Linked DNA regions of Homo sapiens: regions 1 and 3 are each linked to region 2. Evidence: promoter capture Hi-C in human tissues and cell types (Jung and others, 2019). All regions are on one chromosome and are shown on one strand. Each heading gives the region's core, a stretch centred on a gene start or on the middle of the fragment in contact. The rest is flanking DNA. Distances are from core to core; before and after follow the strand shown. Region 1 has its middle 9.8 kb from the start of MIR548G. Region 2 holds the start of EDNRA (endothelin receptor type A). Region 3 has its middle 60 kb from the start of MIR548G.

Region 1 (4,321 bases), core at 824-3,323, 150 kb before region 2:
AGTTACAGCTATATTTCCACTAAATCATTTCAATTATTTAGGTATTCATTAAATATGTACTAGTCTGTATGCTTCTGATGAAATTAGTTGAATGAAAATGTTACCTTTATTTACATACCGTTTTTCCTCTTTCTTCCATCCAACAATATCACTTAGAGAAGGAGGATTATTATTTCAAGCTATGGGAAAGCAAAAGGGAATCTAATAAGGATTTGTTTGCTTCATTTAAAAGGGAAAGTATTGAATTTTTATTTACGCTATTAGGGTAATACCGTATCTATTACAGAAATTTGAAAACAACATAGAAAAAGGGGAATTGTCAATGGTTTTACTACTCCTTGTCAACCATAATTTAATAATTTTTCTTTCAGACTTTTTCTAGGCATTTATTTTTCAGAAGGAACCAGGCCTCCTTTTTTACTTAGTTGTGAGCATAACGCATATACAATTTTGCATCCTGCTTTTCTCATCTAACATAAGCATGTTTCCATGTTACTACAAACTCAGTATTTTTCATGATTGCATATTGTTCAACAAATGTATATATATATATATATATATATATATACTGGAATTTACAGAGCTGTTTTCCATAGGTGAGTATTTCATGTGGTAAATTGTTAAACAATTTACATTTTTGTGTATAAAGAACATAAAGCTTTCGTCAAAGAGTGAGGGTGGGGATTGCATTACTTGGAGATCAAATATTGTAGCAAAGAGGAGCAGCAGCCAGGAACCTCCCAGCTACCAGGCACCTCTTCAGAATAGGGGCAAACAAGCATTCCATGGAAAGGCCTCATCCCATGCCTGGGTGGAGATCTGACAGCCAAAGGAAGCATGCCTCCCAGCAAGCAACTCAGAACAAATGCTTATTCCCAGGAGAAGTCCCGCCTACTTTCCAGCCAGGCAAAAGTGCTCATCAAGGAAAATCTGATTTTCTACAACAGCAGAAAATGGCTTCCAAAGTAGCAGGAGTTAAGGGGCCAATTTGGTTGAGGACAAATTCTACTGTCCCAAAGCACTGCAATGCAGTGAGGTGAGTGAGCCATCCCCTGTAGAGCGGGAGTCATAAGGAAAAGGAAATACAATCGGCTTCCAGTCCCAGTATATCCATAAGAAAATTTTCATAATTGCTCATATTATGAAATTGCTGGGTCTGCAATGCATTCATTTATATTATTTGTAGAAGTTGCATAAACAAAATTTTTTAACTATTTTCCTTTCTTTTAAGTAGCACTGGAGTTGGGGGAATATACAGAGGATTCATCCCTCACTAACTGGGCCATCTTAGCTGAATTATATGTTTACATTTTTCATAACTACCCTAAAAGATATATGGAAGACATAAAATCATATTGCTAAGAAAAATTCCCAATAGTAGTTTAAAATGTATCAATGACAATAGAAAGGGATATCTGTGTTGATGACTTAGAGAACTACCATAGCTAAATTAACATAGGCCTTGAAGTGTTAAGACATAGAATAGTGATTTTGCAAAGGTTTACAATTAAAAATGACTTTTGACCAAATTTTTTAAATAGGCAGAAAAATAAACTATATAAATCCAATTGTAATATATCTGAGTGTACACATCCTAAGAAAATGCAAATTGCCATCAGAGAAGTTAAAACAAATCAAAGAACATTATTTTGATGATGAAGTCTATTAGATACTGGGCTGATTACTCAGTTCCTTAATTCCCTTTTCTTCTAAGTATTTAAAATATGGCAGAGAACTTCCTCTCTTAAAAAAAAAATTCAGGAGGAGTTCTGTGAAAGAGAAAGATGGCCTGTAGTCTAGACGGTCTCTTAGGAGCTCTTCTTGTATATTAATCCTGAATTTCACTCATGACTCATCTCCTTAGAGGTAATCTAAACAGATTAAGAAGCTTCTTTTTTTTCTTCTTCCTTTTGGCTTTGGGAGCTAGTATAAAATTAATATTTCCTGTTCCCTCCCAAGAACCCTGGAACCTTTGCAAACAGTTGTTAAACATCTATAATTCCTTCCCACATTCACTCAACATTTACCACCACTCCCAAGATAAGCAACCCCCACTTTAAGGTATTATAGTGTCAAACACTGCAATAAAGGAAAGAGTGACTTAGAGCAGCTGGTAAACATAGGCTTCTGATTCAAGAGAATACAGCAAAAAGAAGGGATGATTTTTGTTTTAGACAAGAATTCAGAGAGTTTCAAAATTCTATTACTACTTCAAAACCTCATTCTATTAGATGATATACAACTTAATTTATAACTTAGTTTCACTTTTCCTTCAGGCCAAACTATATGTAAAACAATAACAAGGCCCACTAAATTTTATTTTTTGTATTGTACATTCATTTTGTTGTGGAACTCTGGTTTGTTGGAGTCAACTGCAGCAATGTTTCATAATTTACTCTGGTAAATTTCTGCTGGTTTTTGCAAAGAGAAACTTGAAGAATTTTAGCAAAGATTGATGTGCTGCACAAAATACCTTCACAAATCAAATTCAGAATGCTGAGAGACAACATCAAAGGAAAAATTGTTTCTACCATCTTTCAGAAAGAAATCTTTGCAACCATGTCTAACCAAGGGTTTATATAATATAGCATTCTTAATGGGATTTGGTTTTGTCAGGAAATACATTAAATTGAGTAACACTCAAAGGAGAGACAAAAAAACCCACAAGACTGTCTTTGGATTTCAGTCTTAAAGTCATTCTTTACCAAATAGCGGTAACAACCCCATTAACCCAGTTCACATCTCCACACTGTTAGTTGATTCACTTGATTTCATACACTGTTGGTATACATTTTAAGTAAAAGCTCTTTTAAGTTTTAAAGATCTCTATCCCCATAGTCAATGATGCAAAGGTTCAGGCCCCAGACACTAAATTGTAGTGCTTGGAAAACAATAAAAAGACAAATTTTACAGTGTTTCCCAATTAATCAAAGGAATACTTGATCTAGGATTGAACCATAGCCCCTGTAGTCATAGATGACTTCCTTAGATAATATAATCTACTAACCAGTAAGAATTTACCATGTTGTAATTTTGTGATTATTTTTGCTTTTATTTGTTATATGGGTTTTTAGAAATTAGGAATCTACTACAGGCACCATTAAAAAAAACATCGTTGTCTCACCCAATGACTCTAGAAATCCTTGAGAAAGTATGGTGGGGAGTTCATCACCAAATGGATTTTAATACCTGGGCGCATGTTTCTCAAACCGGTGTGCATTGGAATCACAGTGGTTGAGTTGAAGCACCTACAATCTAGTGAGTTCAACAGGTGATATAGATGCCCATCCAAGTTTTAGAACCACTGATCTAGATTGCACATCCAAAATCCCTTCCATTTTGTCCCAGAAATTAATTTTTACTGTATCTTGCCTTATCAAATCTGATTGAAATGTAGTTTTTCCTTAATTTCTAAGACTGCCAATAGCCTTTGTCAATTCTGTATATAATTATTCTCTGGTCTTATTAATAACAACTCACTATGCCTGGCTAAGTCTCCCCTGATCCTACGGAGAGAAAAGAAGAGAGAGGTCAGTTCCACCAAAGGGAACACCTGTGGCTGAGTGAGAAGTGAGTTCAATTAGCCTAGTTCAGTGCATCCCAATTTCCTTAGAGAAAAAGAACATTTCCAGCCTTGAAGTAAACTGCTATAACAGCTGAATCTAGATTAAATACGTGACACTGCTTCCCCTTTTTGAAGCTCCTAGTTGTTCAGAAAACACCATGAGCAATCTGTTCACAATTTCCTGTAGCCAGACCAACACTAATTCCCAATGATGTCAGTCACTTCTTCTTAATGAGATTTTGCACAGCCCTTTGCCATCGTACAATTTGTTCTTAAAGAGAACATGCTAAGATATAGTTTGTTCTTGCTGCATTTCATTGACCTGGAGAAGTGCCTGGAACATAGTAGGCACTCAATAATAAATATTTGTTGAATGAATGAATGTTTTCTTGCACTTCATGTGATCTTTATAATTATTAAGACATAATAAACTTAGTTAACAGTTACTCTGTAAAATATCAAGAGTTATCTTTCTAATTATTGACCAGAGTTGACTTCCATTTGCAAACACATTCATCAATGAAACTTGTTTAAGGACAGCATTAATTCAGAGGTTTCTTGCCTATACCATAATACAGTTCTGATGCAATTCCAGATTTTCAGTATTAGTTTATAAATTTAGACTATTTGATGCCAGTTAATACAGGGTGGCCCTAAACTTCATCTTAATGTTTTTTGATGCATGAGCCCAGTTATAAAAGACTTTCTATCCTTAAATATACAAGCAGAATCCATGGTATAGCCATTTGAATAATT
Region 2 (4,318 bases), core at 949-3,448:
GCTGAATAATGTTCTGTGTTATGTACATGTATTTATATACATATACATACATGTATATACCACATTTTGTTTATCCATTCTTCCACTGATGGATATTTGGATTGTTTCCATCTTTTGGCTAGTTTTCACCTTTTGGCTTTTCTGAATAATGCTGCTATGAATATGGGTGTACAAATATCTGTTTGAGACTCTGCTTTCAATTATTTAGGTAAGTACCAAAAAGTAGAATTGCTGGATCATAGGGTAATTTTATGTTTAATTTTTGGAGGGCTGCCATGCTGTTTTCCACAACTGCTACACTATATTTTACATTCAGACTGGCAATGCACAAGGGTTCCAATTTCTCAACATTCTTGCCAACACTTGTTCTTTGCTGTTTTTGCTTTTGTTTTACTATAATGGCTATCCTAATAGGTGTGAAGGAAGAATTTTTAGTAACTAGTCCTACACCACAGTGAGATCAGCTGTCTCAATAGGTGGGTCATGATGAATGTGTTCTAGCAAAGACTGGACAGATTGACATATTCAGATATGCAGGTGATGCACTGTCCAAGTGTGTCTGGCCACAGAGTGAATAAGGGCTGAAATCCAGCACATGTTTCACGGGCCAAGATGTGAACTGCCTCTTTTGGGAGGAAGCAGTAAGTTTTTCTTTCCCGAAAATATTGTCAGCTTGCCAAGCCACATGCCCAAAGGGTCACCTTTTTTTAATATAAACAATGGCACTTATAAAAGCTATTAGTTATTCTGGTTGGCTGATTCTCCCTCCTAGAGAAGCTGTAAGATTAGTGAACAGGGTAATATCTAGTCTAACCCTACTAGATGACTATTAAGGCCTCTTTCAATGGTGGTTTTCTGTAGATCTCTTTGATGGTTTTACAAAATGGTCCCTAAATTCTTTGACACTCCTCACACTAAGGGTTGGGCTCTATATACCCTCACCTTCAATCTGGGATTTGTGACTGCTTGACTAATAGAATCAAGCAGAAATGACACGGTGCCAGTTTCTGGGCCCAGCCCTTAAGAAACTGGCAGCTTCCACTTTCTGTCTCTGGGGACATTCACTCTTGGATCCCCGCCACCATGCTGTGAGGAAGCCCAAACCACAAGTCTCCACAAGTCTTTGTGGAGAGACGCACGTGGAGAAAAACTAACACTCAACACCAAGCAAGTGAACTGTCTTGGAAGTGGATCCTCCAGCCCCTGCTACATGGAGCAAAAACGAGCTGTCCCAGACAGGCTCTGCCCAAACTGCAGACTGATAAGCAGAGTAAATGAGTGTTGTTATTTTAAGCCACTACGTTTTATAGTAATTTGTTTAGCTGCAGCAGATAGCCGGAACAGCATGGGATATAACATGACCAGTGCTCCAACCTCACACTTCTACCATGTGCTGACTCTAGCAGTGCACTGAAGGACTCCAAGGCAGGCCTTCCCTGAGGAGACCCCAGTTTTTACTCACATGTCACAGGCAGTGGCCTTTGTCCCTCATCTCCTCTCCCACCCCCAATTTAGGATAAAGTATCTGCCGTGATAAAGACGTTGAGACCCACTTTCTGTAAGGTCGGCTTCTTCATTGTTTGAATTTCTTGAGGTTTCACGGAGCCACGCGCTGGAACCTTCCATAGTCTCTCCTGAGGCTCCTTCTTTGCCCTGGGCTGGAGGTCTGTAGCCGTGGGATGCTGGCTACAAGGGACAAGATAGAAGCAAACCACCTGATCCAGTAAACTGCTGTCCACTTCGGCTCCTCAACGGCCTCTAAGCTTAAGAGGGAGCACGCAAGCCAAGCAAAGGCGGCAGGGAAGACGGAGAAGAAACCACCCGTGGGCCCTGGCTCTGTGTCCAGTTGTTCCGTCACAGATCAAATCTGCCTGCACTAAGAGGATGGGTTCCTCTGCAAGGCCTTTCGGAATTCTGAGTCTTGTCTGTCAAACTCTACCCTCTCTCCTCCACATCCCCCACCTTTTCTTTCAGGAAGGAAATAGTTAAAAAAGACTCCTGCCCTTCAGGGCCTGGAAGGGGGCGGCAGCTTTGTGCTTTTTAGTGGCCGCGTCCCAGGATAGCTGGAAGGTTAGGACGCTCTTGCGGTCCCAGAGTGGAGTGGAAGGTCTGGAGCTTTGGGAGGAGACGGGGAGGACAGACTGGAGGCGTGTTCCTCCGGAGTTTTCTTTTTCGTGCGAGCCCTCGCGCGCGCGTACAGTCATCCCGCTGGTCTGACGATTGTGGAGAGGCGGTGGAGAGGCTTCATCCATCCCACCCGGTCGTCGCCGGGGATTGGGGTCCCAGCGAGACCTCCCCGGGAGAAGCAGTGCCCAGGAGGTTTTCTGAAGCCGGGGAAGCTGTGCAGCCGAAGCCGCCGCCGCGCCGGAGCCCGGGACACCGGCCACCCTCCGCGCCACCCACCCTCGCCGGCTCCGGCTTCCTCTGGCCCAGGCGCCGCGCGGACCCGGCAGCTGTCTGCGCACGCCGAGCTCCACGGTCGGTGCAAGTCTTTCTTATCGGGGACTGGGACTGGGGCGGGTGCGGGGATGGCGGAGACGCTGCCTGGGCCCCTCGGTCGGGAGAAGACGAGAGCTGGGAACGTTCTGGCCCGACCGCCCTGCAGCTTGGGCGACCCGTCGCAGCAGGGGCTGGCACCCACTTGCCCCAGGGCGCGCGGGGAGGCGGGCGCCTTCCGTGAGGGGTGCGCTGCGGACACGTGTAGAGTTCGGGGAACTTCACCTCTCCACGTTAGGGTTTAGGATTCGGAGTTTTAGGAAGAGGAAGCCCAATAGTTTTCCCTGGGTGACCCCTTTTCCCCAGGCATGCAAGAACTTTGAGGAACGCCAAGCTCTGTGGCTTGCTCCAGCGCCTTCTTGTGAAGTTGGCTCCACAGCCTTTTCTTACTGGCTTGCTTTTCCTCCCCCACATCTGGGTCTGGGTATGCCAAGGGTAGCCAAGGGCACTCGGTGTGAGGGACTGAGGTGTTTGGGGAAACCCCCTGTGTAGCTAGTTTTGGAAACCTGCCTGTGGAGGTCTGGGCGTTTTGTTCTGTGCTCGCCTTTAAAGGACACTTGTTGCTTCTCACGTGCAGAAAACAAGGGCTGCTTCTAGATAATCACCCTCTGTTTACATCATCCTAATGGCTTTCCCCTGATAGAGTTGGGGGTGGGAGGCATATTAAACTCAGGCGTTGTCTCTAAGGAGAGTTGCTCATTTCTTAACCAGAGAGCAAAACCTCAGAAAACTTGTAAAAAGTTCCTACTTTTACTTGTTTTTTCCTCCACCTGTAGTTGTCTATGTGTTAGCTAATTGAGAAACACCTTGGCAGTCATTTCATGTAAATTGAATGCTCTAAACTCATGCCATTTTGATAAGGTCTGAATTTCCAAATTACCAATTACAGGTGAACTTTGATCCTGAGAGTCTCATATGTTAAATGGTTAAAGTGTAAGCGTAAGGATTCAGTCCTCTTTCTTAATAATAGTTTTTGCACTCCCCAAACTCTCAGATTCCAAACAGGAAGAATGCTGAATCTATAGACCATGTCCTTCAGGTCTGAACCTGAGATGCTTCACTAGCGCTATGACTGATTATGAGTGATGATTCAAAGCACAGCCTGACTCAGATTCCTGGAAATGAGCTACAGACCCACCTTGGAAGAACCTGCAGTTGAGGGGCTTCTTTCATTTGGTTTTGTACTTTTCAGCCAATGATAATATGACATCCACAGGCCTTTGCCAAGTATCCCTTAGTTTTGCAGCTTAACATGTGTGGAGAGCTGATAGAGAAGTCATCAGAAATGATTTCTGTAGTGGTGTCATTGTTGGAGGAGGAAGGAAGGGGGTTTTAATGATAGCTGGCTCTCATGCCTTAAGAACCCACAGCGTTGGCCTTACCTCCTGGCATAATCAGCTAACCAAGCAGACCAGCATGCTAACGTTCAAAGCACCACAGGACCTCTGATGAGTAGAGCAGTACCCACCGTAGCCAGGTCAGTTCACAGGTCAGTTCCCAGCCGACTGTAACCGGCAGAGAGCCATTCCATTTCTGCAAAGGCCTTCTCTCTCTCATTTTTAAGAAAGCTGTTATTGAAGGTTCCCTTTCATTTGGGAAGCTGGAAGACGTTAGTCACGAAACAGCACAAGATATGAAAGTATTTCTTCTCCCCCCTGTATCTGTGATCCAAAAAGGAGGATGACAAGAAGCTTTTCTCTTGGAGTCCTGGTGTTCCCTTTGGAATGGAAATGGTGTCATTTCATAGGTCTATCAATTTTTGGCCAGATACTCACTCCAGATTATAAGAAGCAGGAAAAAACTGCAAACTGTTTATAATTAA
Region 3 (4,905 bases), core at 1,831-4,330, 200 kb before region 2:
GACAGTCTCTTCAATAAGTGATGCTGATAAAAATAGATATTCACATACAGAAGAATGAAATTAGACACTTATCTCACACCTATACAAAAATCAACTCAAAATGGATTGAAGACTTCAATGTAAGACCTGAAACTGAAAAACTGCGAGAAGGATAAGGGGTTAATATCCAATATATATAAGGAACTCACACAACTCAATAATGAAAAACATCCTGTTTCAAAAATTAGCAAAGGATCTAAATAGACATTTCCCAAAAGAAAACATACAAATGGCAAACAAGTTTATGAAAATGCCCTCAACATTGCTAATCATCAAGGAAATTCAAATCAAAACTGAGTTATCACCTCACATCTGTTAGAATGGCTATTATCAGAAAGACCAAAGATAGCAAGTGTTGGAGAGGCTGTGGAAAAAAGGAAACTCTTATATACTGTTTCTGGGAATGTGAATTGGTACAACCATTATGGAAAACAGTAGGAGGTTCCTCAAAAAATAAAAAGATCTAGTAACCTGACTACTGCGTATACATCCAAAGGAAATGAAATCAGGCTCTCCAAGAGATATCTGCATTCCCATGTTAATTTCCACATTATTTACAATACTCAAAGTATGGAAATGATGAATGAATAAAGGAAAATGTGGGGGCTATACACACACACACACATACAAACACTCCACACAATGGAATATTATTCAGCCTTAAAAAGAGGGAATCTAAAATAGTTGAAGTCATAGAAACAGAGAATAGAATAGTGTTTGCCAGGGGTGAGGGGAGAGAAAAATGGGGAGATGTTGGTTGGGGGTACAAAGTTTCAATTATGCTGGAAGAATACATTCTGGAGATCGAATGTACAATAATATGAGTATAATTAACAATAGTTTATTGTATATTTGAAATTTGCCAAGAGGGGAGACACTAAGTATTTTTGTCATACACACACATACAAACGTTTAAGTGGTAACTATCTAAAGTGATTGCTGTGTTAATTAGTGTGTGCTGATTATTTTACAACGTATGTGTGTATTAAATCATCAAATTGTATACCTTAAATCTTTGTGTTAAATATACGTCAATAAAAAAAATGTTAAGTATACACATTCTCTTACCTTTAGTGAGCCTTTTTCAAGTAAGGAAGCCATTTTCCTAGAAATTTTCTCTTAATAAAAAGGCAACCAAGACTTCCAACCTGGAAGCTGAGAGATCAGACACTGATATTCAGAACTCAACCAAGATGCAATTATACCTTAAGCTCAAGTTTGAAACAGCCATTAGTTTCTCTCATATTATTATCCTAGTCATTATCTACCATTTAACTATGTATAATTATCCATTCAGATTATTTATAAAAATGTTAACTTAGACACCTATCAGAAATAAATCTTTGGATGTCACAATATCAGTGTTTCTTTCTCCAGAAAAATGCCTACATATCTCTGCTCTTCATTTCTTGATTGCAAGCAAGGACTTTATGGAAAGGGGGAACTCCTCAATTACTAATGATTTAATTCTCTTTCCTACTAAGTTTTATGATAAATTTTGAAAGACTAAATAAATTATGTTCCCTTGTTTGTCTTTATTCTCAGGTTTATTTGGCCTCTCTGAGGAATACAACAGAATTACTCTGTCAGTAAGTCTTAGTTCTTGTTTTAATTTTAGTTATGATGAGAGATCTTTTTATGTACATTAATGTTGACCTAGTGGGAGATTTTTGTGTGGAGGAGGTCCTCTTAAATTTTTTTAATGCATTAGGTGAAATGAAAGTATCTATAATCTTCAAAAGCAAAAACTCCAAGAAACACAGTCATCTGATAATAACAGCAATGAAATGAAAGGAAAATATTGGCAAACATAATCTAAGAGACCCCTAGCTAGCAAGGTTCATAAACCCAGTTAGATAATCTTTCCCTACTCCCATTAAGTCATTGCCAAATCACTGCAATCAGATTTGAGTATCACTAATAGCAAATTGCTGGAAATTGAACCAGATGCTCAAAAGCTTTCATGATTATTCACCAAATAGCCAGAGATTAAAAACACTAGATAAGATCAATCTGGGCCAGGAAAGACCCAACAAGTTGTAATCAGTAACTTGAGCCATCTGGCCAGGCTCTGCCTTCTTTTGGGTCATAGCTTGGCAACTTCATTAGCATTATGCTTTGAGTTATAATTTTTAAATAATGTGGAACGTTATTTCTGTCATGAACGAGACAAGTGATAGCTGGAGATATAAATACTACTCTTGCTACACGCTATTATATGTTGAGATTAAGACAAATGGGGCATTTATATACTTGACTTAAAGGTGACTTGCTACATAAACTTTATAACCAATCCTGTCTTCAGACCTGCCAGTTGAAGATAAGAGTCCCCTCTACCCCCAAAATACACAATGTTCTGAAGATTTATGAAAACTAGTATCATCCAATAGCAATAATAATAATTTATTCATACAGGACTTTAAGGTTTTCATTGCTCTTTTGTCTACAGAATTTCAACAGTTTGAAATAGTGATATAAGTTTTCTCCTTCAATATCTTTATTTTTGCTACTCAAAGTCTGTCCCTGCATCAGCACCAATGGGGTAACCTGGAAATTTGTTAGAAATGCAGAGTATCAGCCTTACCCTAGACCTACTAAAAAAGAATATGTACTGTAACAACACCCCTAGGTGATTCATACACGTTAAATTTTTGCATGTATCAGAATCATCTAGAGTATTTGTTAAAACATGCTTTTTGTGTCTCACCAGGAATTCACTAGATCTGGAATGGGAAAAACAATTTGTATTTCCAACAAGTTCTCCATCATGTCCATGCTGATGGTCTGGAGACCACAGTTTAAGAACTACCATTCTTGCCTAGAGGATGTTATGTTTTTTCCCTAGTTTGGTAACAGATTATTCATGTTTCAAGCAAGATAATGCAGGGCATTAAGTTTAGGCACATTCCATTTAATAGCCGCTAACTTGATTAAAATTATGATTGACCAATGCAGAACATACATGTTGCAAGAGGCTGCCCAACTCACCAGGATTCTCCCAATCACAGCAGCTACGCTCCCTGTCCGATCTCCTGACAATGTGGATGGTTAGAACCAAAGTAGGCACAACACACCCTGTCTGGTCCAATCAAATTCTCTCATCTGGAATTTGAAATCCCAAATAAAGACAAGGCCTCTATTTTCTGATTTCCCCAGGCTTAGTGGTTCGGTTCTTCCACCAATCCTTTACATTACCCAATATTCTTCCAATAATTTATTATTTTAGCAAGTTTACAGAATTAGTAGAAATGCTTTTCATCATTTTTTAAATAATTATTTCTTCCAAGAATCCTTTTTTGTTTCAGTCTACCGATGTTTGAATAAAGGAGCCATAAGGGAGTGCCAGAGAGTATAAATAATGAAAACAGGCACTTCTTTTGCAACTCCAATGGCCATTATCCTTGTTCCCTATTGTTTATTGTCTGTTGAATCAGGACTGCATAACCTCTGAGAAGAACCCAGATGGGGATTCTGTTGGTGTTGGTACGATGCCCAGCACTGACAGTAACTGTGGAACCCAGTGCTCACATGTCTGCCCTTTTGTGTGTAGAGAAGTCATAACCATCCTGAAAACGTATTCTCGGCAAGTGGGGAGAAGCTATATGAAAATCAGCAGGGAAGGGGAAGAGTGGGGCATACCAGGAGCAGGAAAAAGAATGCCTTGCTCCAGCAGCTCTCATGAGGCACTCTCCATTTTCTAGAACATGCCAAGACTCCATTTCTGACATAAATTTTCAGTGCTTGGGAAAGACATTTTTACCCTGAGAAGGAACTCAGTATATGAAACTGCATCAGTAGTTGAACTTAGTCTCTGGAGAACCACCAAACTCTATGTAGGATTCCTGAAGGCAAGATTGGTCTGATTCACCAATCAGAACTACCGCCATCACCACCATCAAAGGTTTCCATGCTTAATCTCTCCAACTTTTCATAAGTTAATGTCCTCTTGGTGAACAAGATGTTAAGGAACAACAAGCTCCATGTCTCTAATTAGCACCACATTGAAGTATATCATTAGCTTTTAATTAAATCCTTTAACTAGTTGTTTCTTTTTCTAATGGTTAAAAGCATTCTGAACCAGTCAAGGCTGGAAACGACAAATAAATTCATAGAGCAATGCATCTGCATGGAGACCAAAGGGGCAACCAAGGAAGAGGGGACAGGAAACAGGCCTGTTGGCCTTAAATCCCAAGGCAGATGTTTCTTCCTTCCCTCCCCTCACAGGCTCACAGACTTTTATGGAGAAAGAGGATAACAAGATGAATTTGCAGCAGAGATGGTGACAGGACGTTGCAGGCCTGATGCTCATGGGGCCCCACAACATCTCTCATTCTCCAGTCAGCCCAGAATTGTCAAAGCACTGTCCTCCTGGTCTTCCTCAAATATAGGGCAGCTGGGGCGGCCCCCACTTCCCAGAGTCTTAAGAATATCCAAGCTTCACCTGGGGGTCAGAATAAAAATGACCTGTAGCAAGGAACTGTTACCTCCATATAGTAACCAAATAATTCAGGAGGAGAAGACAGGAGGCTCTCAAGGTTGCGATTTGAAGAAGTGTATTGCCATCTGCTTACCAGATGTAAAGACTTAAGAATAAACACAAAAGTAGATGAGAACCATAAGAAAAAGTAACCCAGATGTTAGCTGAGGCCTCTCTGGCCCTCAGAAAACAAGGTATGATTGATTCAAAGCTCCATTTTCATGTCCTGTGCAGGCCCAAATCCTTCTCCAAAATAACTATAAATTCCACTGAAGGAAGGCGTGAGGTGTAGGGACTGATAGGTTATAGATCACCTCTGGCTACAGCCTACTACTTCTTCAATCTACTGATCATCTCGACATCTTACAGGAGCTGCCTCTGCTCTGAGT

Evidence for each region. The method cuts DNA at HindIII sites, captures the fragments that hold promoters and counts their contacts. A contact is called where the count stands out against the background at its distance.
Region 1: a fragment that was not itself captured here is called in contact with the fragment with the promoter of EDNRA in region 2 in 3 of the 25 tissues and cell types used here (H1 embryonic stem cells, IMR-90 fibroblasts and bladder).
Region 3: a contact is called between a fragment that was not itself captured here and the fragment with the promoter of EDNRA in region 2, in 4 of the 25 tissues and cell types used here (dorsolateral prefrontal cortex, heart left ventricle, mesendoderm cells and 1 more).

What each region holds. Positions count from the first base shown.
Region 1 is chr4:147,332,729-147,337,049 of GRCh38, forward strand. No RefSeq gene overlaps it. Among named protein-coding and RNA genes, the nearest start is that of MIR548G, 9.8 kb to the right of the region's middle. The HindIII fragment of the contact is 4,524 bases long and covers 1-4,321 here.
Region 2 is chr4:147,478,899-147,483,216 of GRCh38, forward strand. EDNRA (endothelin receptor type A) reads left to right here and starts at 2,199. Exons shown (of 8, transcript NM_001957.4): 1 at 2,199-2,478. RefSeq lists enhancers at 2,889-2,988, 3,019-3,098. The HindIII fragment of the contact is 3,954 bases long and covers 498-4,318 here.
Region 3 is chr4:147,282,424-147,287,328 of GRCh38, forward strand. No RefSeq gene overlaps it. Among named protein-coding and RNA genes, the nearest start is that of MIR548G, 60 kb to the right of the region's middle. The HindIII fragment of the contact is 4,986 bases long and covers 588-4,905 here.